Regions from separate parts of the Homo sapiens genome. Here region 2 is linked to region 1. The links are contacts of gene promoters, found by promoter capture Hi-C in human tissues and cell types (Jung and others, 2019). All regions are on one chromosome and are shown on one strand. Each heading gives the region's core, a stretch centred on a gene start or on the middle of the fragment in contact. The rest is flanking DNA. Distances are from core to core; before and after follow the strand shown.

Region 1 (3,252 bases), core at 693-3,192:
GTTCCATAGAGCATAGTGGAAATACAGAAAACCAAACACAAAACAATCTTTTTTTTAAACTTGTCGATACTTGATTTTAGACAAAACAATCTTAACAACATATTCTATAGTAAAGAGTGAAACATAATATTTAAGAATGAAGACAAAGTATGTTCAAAAGGTGACTAATGGTGAACACGTTGAAAATGCTTAATTTAGCTGCCATAAAGGCATAATTACACTATGACTGACCCTGTACGTACATCGCACTTGTTACTTGATTTACCACATACGTGGTTTTCAATAGCTAAAGCAGCAGCTTGATTCTAACCAAGCATCACCATTCTTGGAAGATGAAAGTGAAGACTGATAATCAACTAAATGGTTTTGACACAATTATTCCTTTCTTATATCATGAAGCACTTCCCCACAGGGTAAGGACATGAAGACTTCAGTTGAGAAAGATAATCGGGCAGCCTCTACTTTCAGATCCTTACAAATTGTTCGCAGGTCATCTAACTAAAAGACTGTAAAAGCTGCTGTCGGCTCAATACTTTGTATCAAAAAGGAGTCTACCCACTGATTCCCTTCAAATATTTCAGAAGGGTGCCTTCCATTTTATGGTGTCCCTGTGGACACATGAATACACCAAATAACTGATGAATCGACAAATCTTATGTCACAGGTGGTAGGCAAGAGGTCATCGGGAATTCCGATCACCAGGCTCGCATCTGGCTTCTTGGGTCCCACTCCTGAACTAACCAGTCGGGCTACCCGAGCGTGCGGGAGTCTGAGAAACTGCATTTTAAAAGGGCCCCAGGAGATCTTGTTTTCCACTAACATTAAAGAACCACGACTACGAACAAACAGGTCTCCCCCTTTCCTCTGTGTGGACTGACAGTCACAAGGACCACCAACTCTCAAGCATGACGCTTCAACTCTCTTTGTTTCTTAAGTTTTCTGCAAAACGGGCCAGCTGGCTTGTTTTCCGTAATAGAAAATTCGCTTGGCACAGCAACTGGTACATGGCACACAATAAATGTGCTTCCCATCCTGCACTGCCATTCTGGGATTCAACCATTTCCAACCAGACGCCGCACATCCGAGTGAGTAACCTGGACCTGTTCCAAGACCTCTGGAACGGAGCCTGCTACTCACTTGAAACCTGGGTGGCCCTACCTAGCAGAAAATTGGGGAAACCCCATTAAACGCCCGGCAGTGTTGGGCCCGCCTGAAAGGGTCCTCGCCGCGACCCAGATGCCTTCCCGCGGGCACCCTCAGCTCCCCTCAGGCTGGGCCCGCAAGCCCCAGGCTTCGGCTACTCCGGACAAGGAGCGGGTGCGCGGACTGAGAACAGGCCTGGCCCTAACCCTAACAGCAGCCGCAGCTCATCTCTTCCGTAAGGAAGCTGGAACCCAGGTGTCGCCGCCAGGCCAGGACCGAGGCCGCACTCACCTACCGGCGCGCGGGAGGCGAGACGACCTCACCTCGGCGGCGCCCACCCCAAACCGCCACCGCAGAGCCGCTCGCTCTTAAAAAAGAAAAAAAAATGAAAGGAAGAAAGAAAGAAACAGAGGAAGGAATGAATGAAAGAAAGAAAAAAAAAAAGAAAATAGCCTTTGCTTTTGTATTTCTTTTGACCCTTCAGGGCTTCCTGTTCCTCACCGCCACAATAGAGTCCCGCCCCACTTCCGGCGACGTAACCCAATCCGCGGAGCTCTTCCTCCCCGGGAGCCCGATGGAAATCCGGTACCCTGAAAACGAGCCGGAGAGACTTGATTGGGCCATTCACGCCTCAGGATGAGGACTGGCCAGTCTGCGCCTGGAGGGCGGGCCGGTCCCGCTGATCACGTGACACGATTTTTGAAAGGTGATTGGCTGTCAAGGAGAGGGCTTGCCACCGAGGAAGGGGCGTTTCCTAGGGGACTGAGGGAGGGCTGGGGCGGTACGAAGCGGGGGTGGGCTCTGCGCGTAATGGCAGCGCCGTGGCCTCGCGTCCATCTTTGCCGTTCTCTCGGACCTGTCACAAAGGAGTCGCGCCGCCGCCGCCGCCCCCTCCCTCCGGTGGGCCCGGGAGGTAGAGAAAGTCAGTGCCACAGCCCGACCGCGCTGCTCTGAGCCCTGGGCACGCGGAACGGGAGGGAGTCTGAGGGTTGGGGACGTCTGTGAGGGAGGGGAACAGCCGCTCGAGCCTGGGGCGGGCGGACCGGACTGGGGCCGGGGTAGGCTCTGGAAAGGGCCCGGGAGAGAGGTGGCGTTGGTCAGAACCTGAGAAACAGCCGAGAGGTTTTCCACCGAGGCCCGCGCTTGAGGGATCTGAAGAGGTTCCTAGAAGAGGGTGTTCCCTCTTTCGGGGGTCCTCACCAGAAGAGGTTCTTGGGGGTCGCCCTTCTGAGGAGGCTGCGGCTAACAGGGCCCAGGTGAGAGGCAGCTATCTATCTCCTGGGGTGGCTCCTGGTACCGATGGGGTCCTGACCTACTCAGGGGTGCCCGGGATAGAAAGGGTAGATGAAGGGACGCTTTAGGAGGGTTCTTTTTGTGGAGTTTACGGTCTAGGTGGCACGGATGAGGCATACCTCCCCGGGGAGATTTAGAAACGCCTTGGGATAGAGAGAGAATGGGGCTAGGAAGCAGGAGCTAGAACTAGCGGAATGTCCTACTACGGAAGCCGGAGCTGAAAATTGGGTAAGGACCTTGGGGAGAGGGGATTTCTGGGCGGTGATGGGAAGAAGACACCTCCATCCACAGGAAAGCCAGAGTGGGGAGTAGTGAAAGGGAAACGGGAATTATTCCCTCTCTCTGTAGATCGACCAGGTGTCCCAGACACAGGATCCAACTGCTTCCGGGCTTATTGCCCGAGTGGGGTGGGGAGAGTCTATCCCACCAACACCCCTTGCGTGAGTCCAAATTAGGCATTTGTCTCTCCTGCTGCCTCACTTTCCCCGTCTTTGGGGAGGGAAACCGACTGAGACCGAGGCGGTCGGCTGAGACTCCGAGGTCCTGTCTTGTATAGTTCTCTGAGAGAGGTTGCTCCCCCTGGAGTGTTGTACTTTGAACTTTGAAGGGTTAGAAGTGTCTGTTATCGACTGAGTAGAATCCCGCAGTTTTCCAGGCCCTTTACCTACCATCTGTTCTTGCTTAGTGGAGTGACTTAACCTCCTTAAGTCTCTACTGTAAAATAACCAGCGCAGTATGTGAAAGTACAAATTACAAGCTGCGTGAACGTAAGTTAGTGTGATTCTACCACCAAACGGGTTGCTGTTGAGGAATAAA
Region 2 (3,231 bases), core at 689-3,188, 160 kb before region 1:
TGGTTCCAGCCTCCTAGCTGGACAAGGAGCCCAGGGCCCTGCTCCAGGGGCTGTTCCTATTGGTCACTTAGCTTAGCTGTAGGAGGACCCTGCTTGACTTCTTAAAATTCTTTCCTGAGTCCTCTTTCCTTTCTCCCTCCCTTCCTTTCTGGGTCCCCTTCCTTCTTGTTTTCCTTCTTCCTTTCTCAAACTCTTCCAGAAAGGCATTAAAGTGATTGTTGAAAATCCATACAATGAGACAAGACTCCAGAAACTATTAAGGGAAGTGAGGAAATGTGGGTGATAAGAAATCGGGATGATAAAACCCTAACAGAGGAGGGAGGTTGCAGGCCTGGCCAAACTCACTGGGAACTTCACTTATATGACCACCGGCGGCTTCCATAGAGCTTGGTCCTTCCCTGATGGACAGATGGCCATTTAGTGCTTGGAGCTGAGTGTTTCTGGGGGCTGCTGGCTGTTGGCCCTGCTTCCTGCATCCTGGACTGCAAGACTGCCAGGCCCAGAACATCCACCTTCCAATGGGGGTGCCTAGAAGTCCACTCTGCAAATAGAAGCTGGTGTTGACCCAGCCTCTGCCTGCTGCCTGCCTTTCCAGTCCCTGCATGTGGGTGTACTTGGCTGCCTGCCACCTGTCTGTGGACTGGAGTTCCCCAAAGGTTCTGGGTAACCCCTCAGCCCAGATCCCCAGACCCCACTCCTCCACCCCTTCCTTTGCTTTTTCAGGCCTGAAGCGCCCACATCAGAGCTGTGGGTCCTCACCCCGCCGGAAGCAGTGCAAGAAGCAGCAGCTAGGTGGGTACCAGTGTGGGGAGGAACATAAACAGAGAGATGGGGTTGCCTGGGGGCCAAGACCCGGACCCTGGACCTTGTCCCCTGCCAATAAGCCTCCAGAGGCCCAGTGACTCTTGTCTCGCAAGTTTCCAGGAGAAAAGGACTGGAGGTCTTGCACAGGCAGAGGAGAGGCCTGGGCTGGCAGCGAAGGGGCTCCCCACCCATCTGGCTGCATGGGGACTTCTCTGAAGAGGGCTCCGCTGAAGGAGCTGGAAGCACCATACAGGTCTCAGCTTCGCTGTCCAGGCTTTTCCAGGGACACCCTATGTCCTCAGTGTTGAAGGAGACCCAGGGAGGAGACCAGTTTGGGGGTGAGCAGGGATGGGGAGGGGTGAGGAGGCCTGGGAGAAACCTTCAAGACAGAGGCCCTGGGGGCCCATGGGGAGACATGGAGCTGCTTAGGGCAGGCCAGGCCAGTGAGAGAAGAAAGGGGACTTCTCTCATTCTTGACCAGTTCTCAGAATGGTCCTCGTTCTCCACGAGTTGTCCCACTAACTAGAGCCTTCTCTGCCCCCACTGCTGCCAACCATGGCTATAACCAGAGGATTCACATCCGCTCAAAATAGTTCACTACCTTGGCCTTTCCCCATAGGGTTCCCCCAAAAGCAGCCCCAGCCCTTTCCCTGGGTCACCTGAGACCTCTCAATGACCCAGGAATTAAAAGGTTAACATCTGGCACTGTAGGGGCCCAGCTCCCACAGTTCCGATCGGTAATGCCTAGGCCTACAGGTTGTTAGTGCTCACCCCTGGGCATTGCAGAACTGAAATATTGGGAAGAGGCACTGGGGATCCAGATATTACAGAAAGAGGTTGTTTCAATAAGATATTGCAAAGTAGCTGGGCGCGGTGGCTCACACCTGTAATCCCAGCACTTTGGAGGGCTGAGGCAGGTGGATCAGTTGAGCCCAGGAATTCAATACTAGCCTGGCCAACGTGACAAAACCTTGTCTCTACTAAAAATACAAAAATTAGCTGGGTGTGGTGGTGTGCACCTGTAGTCCCAGCTACTCAGGAGGCTGAGGCAGGAGGATCACTTGAGACCAGGAGTTTGCGGCTACAGTAAGCTAGGATCGTGCCACTGCACTGGAGCCTGGGCAAGACTGAGACTCTGTCTCTGGGAAAAAAGAAAAAAAAGAGATGTTGCAAAGGAGGTGCCCTATTCCCCTCCCCCCATCTTACTGAACCCTTACACCACGTGTACTATTGCAGAATGGATAGAACCGTGACCCACACTTCCCCATTCCCACCTGCCTGTTTAAATAGCTACCGGAGAGCCTATGCTCCCTTAGAACTGATTCCTTCTGGAAGTTGGGGTGGCACAGATCCCCCTATGGTGCTCTTGACACCCCCACCCTCACCCCATCATACATACACATCTGGGGCTACAGGCTCCCAACAGCCCAATACTGGGGCAAGAAGACATGAGCAGAGGGCCGGGGGGTCCTCTCCTCATGCCATGTCCCTGCCCCTTGCAGAGTTGGCCAAGAAGTACCTGCAGCTCCTGCGGACCTCTGCCCAGCAGCGCTACAGGAGCCAAATCCCTGGGTCAGGGCAGCCCCACGCCTTCCACCAGGTCTATGTCCCTCCAATCCTGCGCCGGGCCACAGCATCCTTAGACACTCCGGAGGGGGCCATTATGGGGGACGTCAAGGTGGAAGATGGTGCTGACGTGAGCATCTCGGACCTCTTCAACACCAGGGTTAACAAGGGCCCGAGGGTGACCGTGCTTTTGGGGAAGGCTGGCATGGGCAAGACCACGCTGGCCCACCGGCTCTGCCAGAAGTGGGCAGAGGGCCATCTGAACTGTTTCCAGGCCCTGTTCCTTTTTGAATTCCGCCAGCTCAACTTGATCACGAGGTTCCTGACACCGTCCGAGCTCCTTTTTGATCTGTACCTGAGCCCTGAATCGGACCACGACACTGTCTTCCAGTACCTGGAGAAGAACGCTGACCAAGTCCTGCTGATCTTTGATGGGCTAGATGAGGCCCTCCAGCCTATGGGTCCTGATGGCCCAGGCCCAGTCCTCACCCTTTTCTCCCATCTCTGCAATGGGACCCTCCTGCCTGGCTGCCGGGTGATGGCTACCTCCCGTCCAGGGAAGCTGCCTGCCTGCCTGCCTGCAGAGGCAGCCATGGTCCACATGTTGGGCTTTGATGGGCCACGGGTGGAAGAATATGTGAATCACTTCTTCAGCGCCCAGCCATCGCGGGAGGGGGCCCTGGTGGAGTTACAGACAAATGGACGTCTCCGAAGCCTGTGTGCGGTGCCCGCACTGTGCCAAGTCGCCTGTCTCTGCCTCCACCATCTGCTTCCTGACCACGCCCCAGGCCAGTCTGTGGCCCTCCTGCCCAACATGACTCAGCTCTATATGCAGATGGTGCTCGCCCTCAGCCCCCCTGG

Evidence for each region. The method cuts DNA at HindIII sites, captures the fragments that hold promoters and counts their contacts. A contact is called where the count stands out against the background at its distance.
Region 2: a contact is called between a fragment that was not itself captured here and the fragment with the promoter of RSPRY1 in region 1, in 2 of the 25 tissues and cell types used here (lymphoblastoid cells and spleen).

The regions. Positions count from the first base shown.
Region 1 is chr16:57,184,387-57,187,638 of GRCh38, forward strand. It overlaps RSPRY1 (ring finger and SPRY domain containing 1), which reads left to right and starts at 1,943. Exons shown (of 15, transcript NM_133368.3): 1 at 1,943-2,065. It overlaps PSME3IP1 (proteasome activator subunit 3 interacting protein 1), which reads right to left and starts at 1,653. Exons shown (of 7, transcript NM_024946.4): 1 at 1,435-1,653. RefSeq lists enhancers at 1,278-1,327, 2,639-3,252 and a silencer at 2,028-2,237. The HindIII fragment of the contact is 6,609 bases long and covers 1-3,252 here.
Region 2 is chr16:57,023,062-57,026,292 of GRCh38, forward strand. NLRC5 (NLR family CARD domain containing 5) reads left to right here. Exons shown (of 49, transcript NM_001384950.1): 5 at 724-792; 6 at 2,307-3,231. Among named protein-coding and RNA genes, the nearest start is that of NLRC5, 35 kb to the left of the region's middle. The HindIII fragment of the contact is 7,248 bases long and covers 1-3,231 here.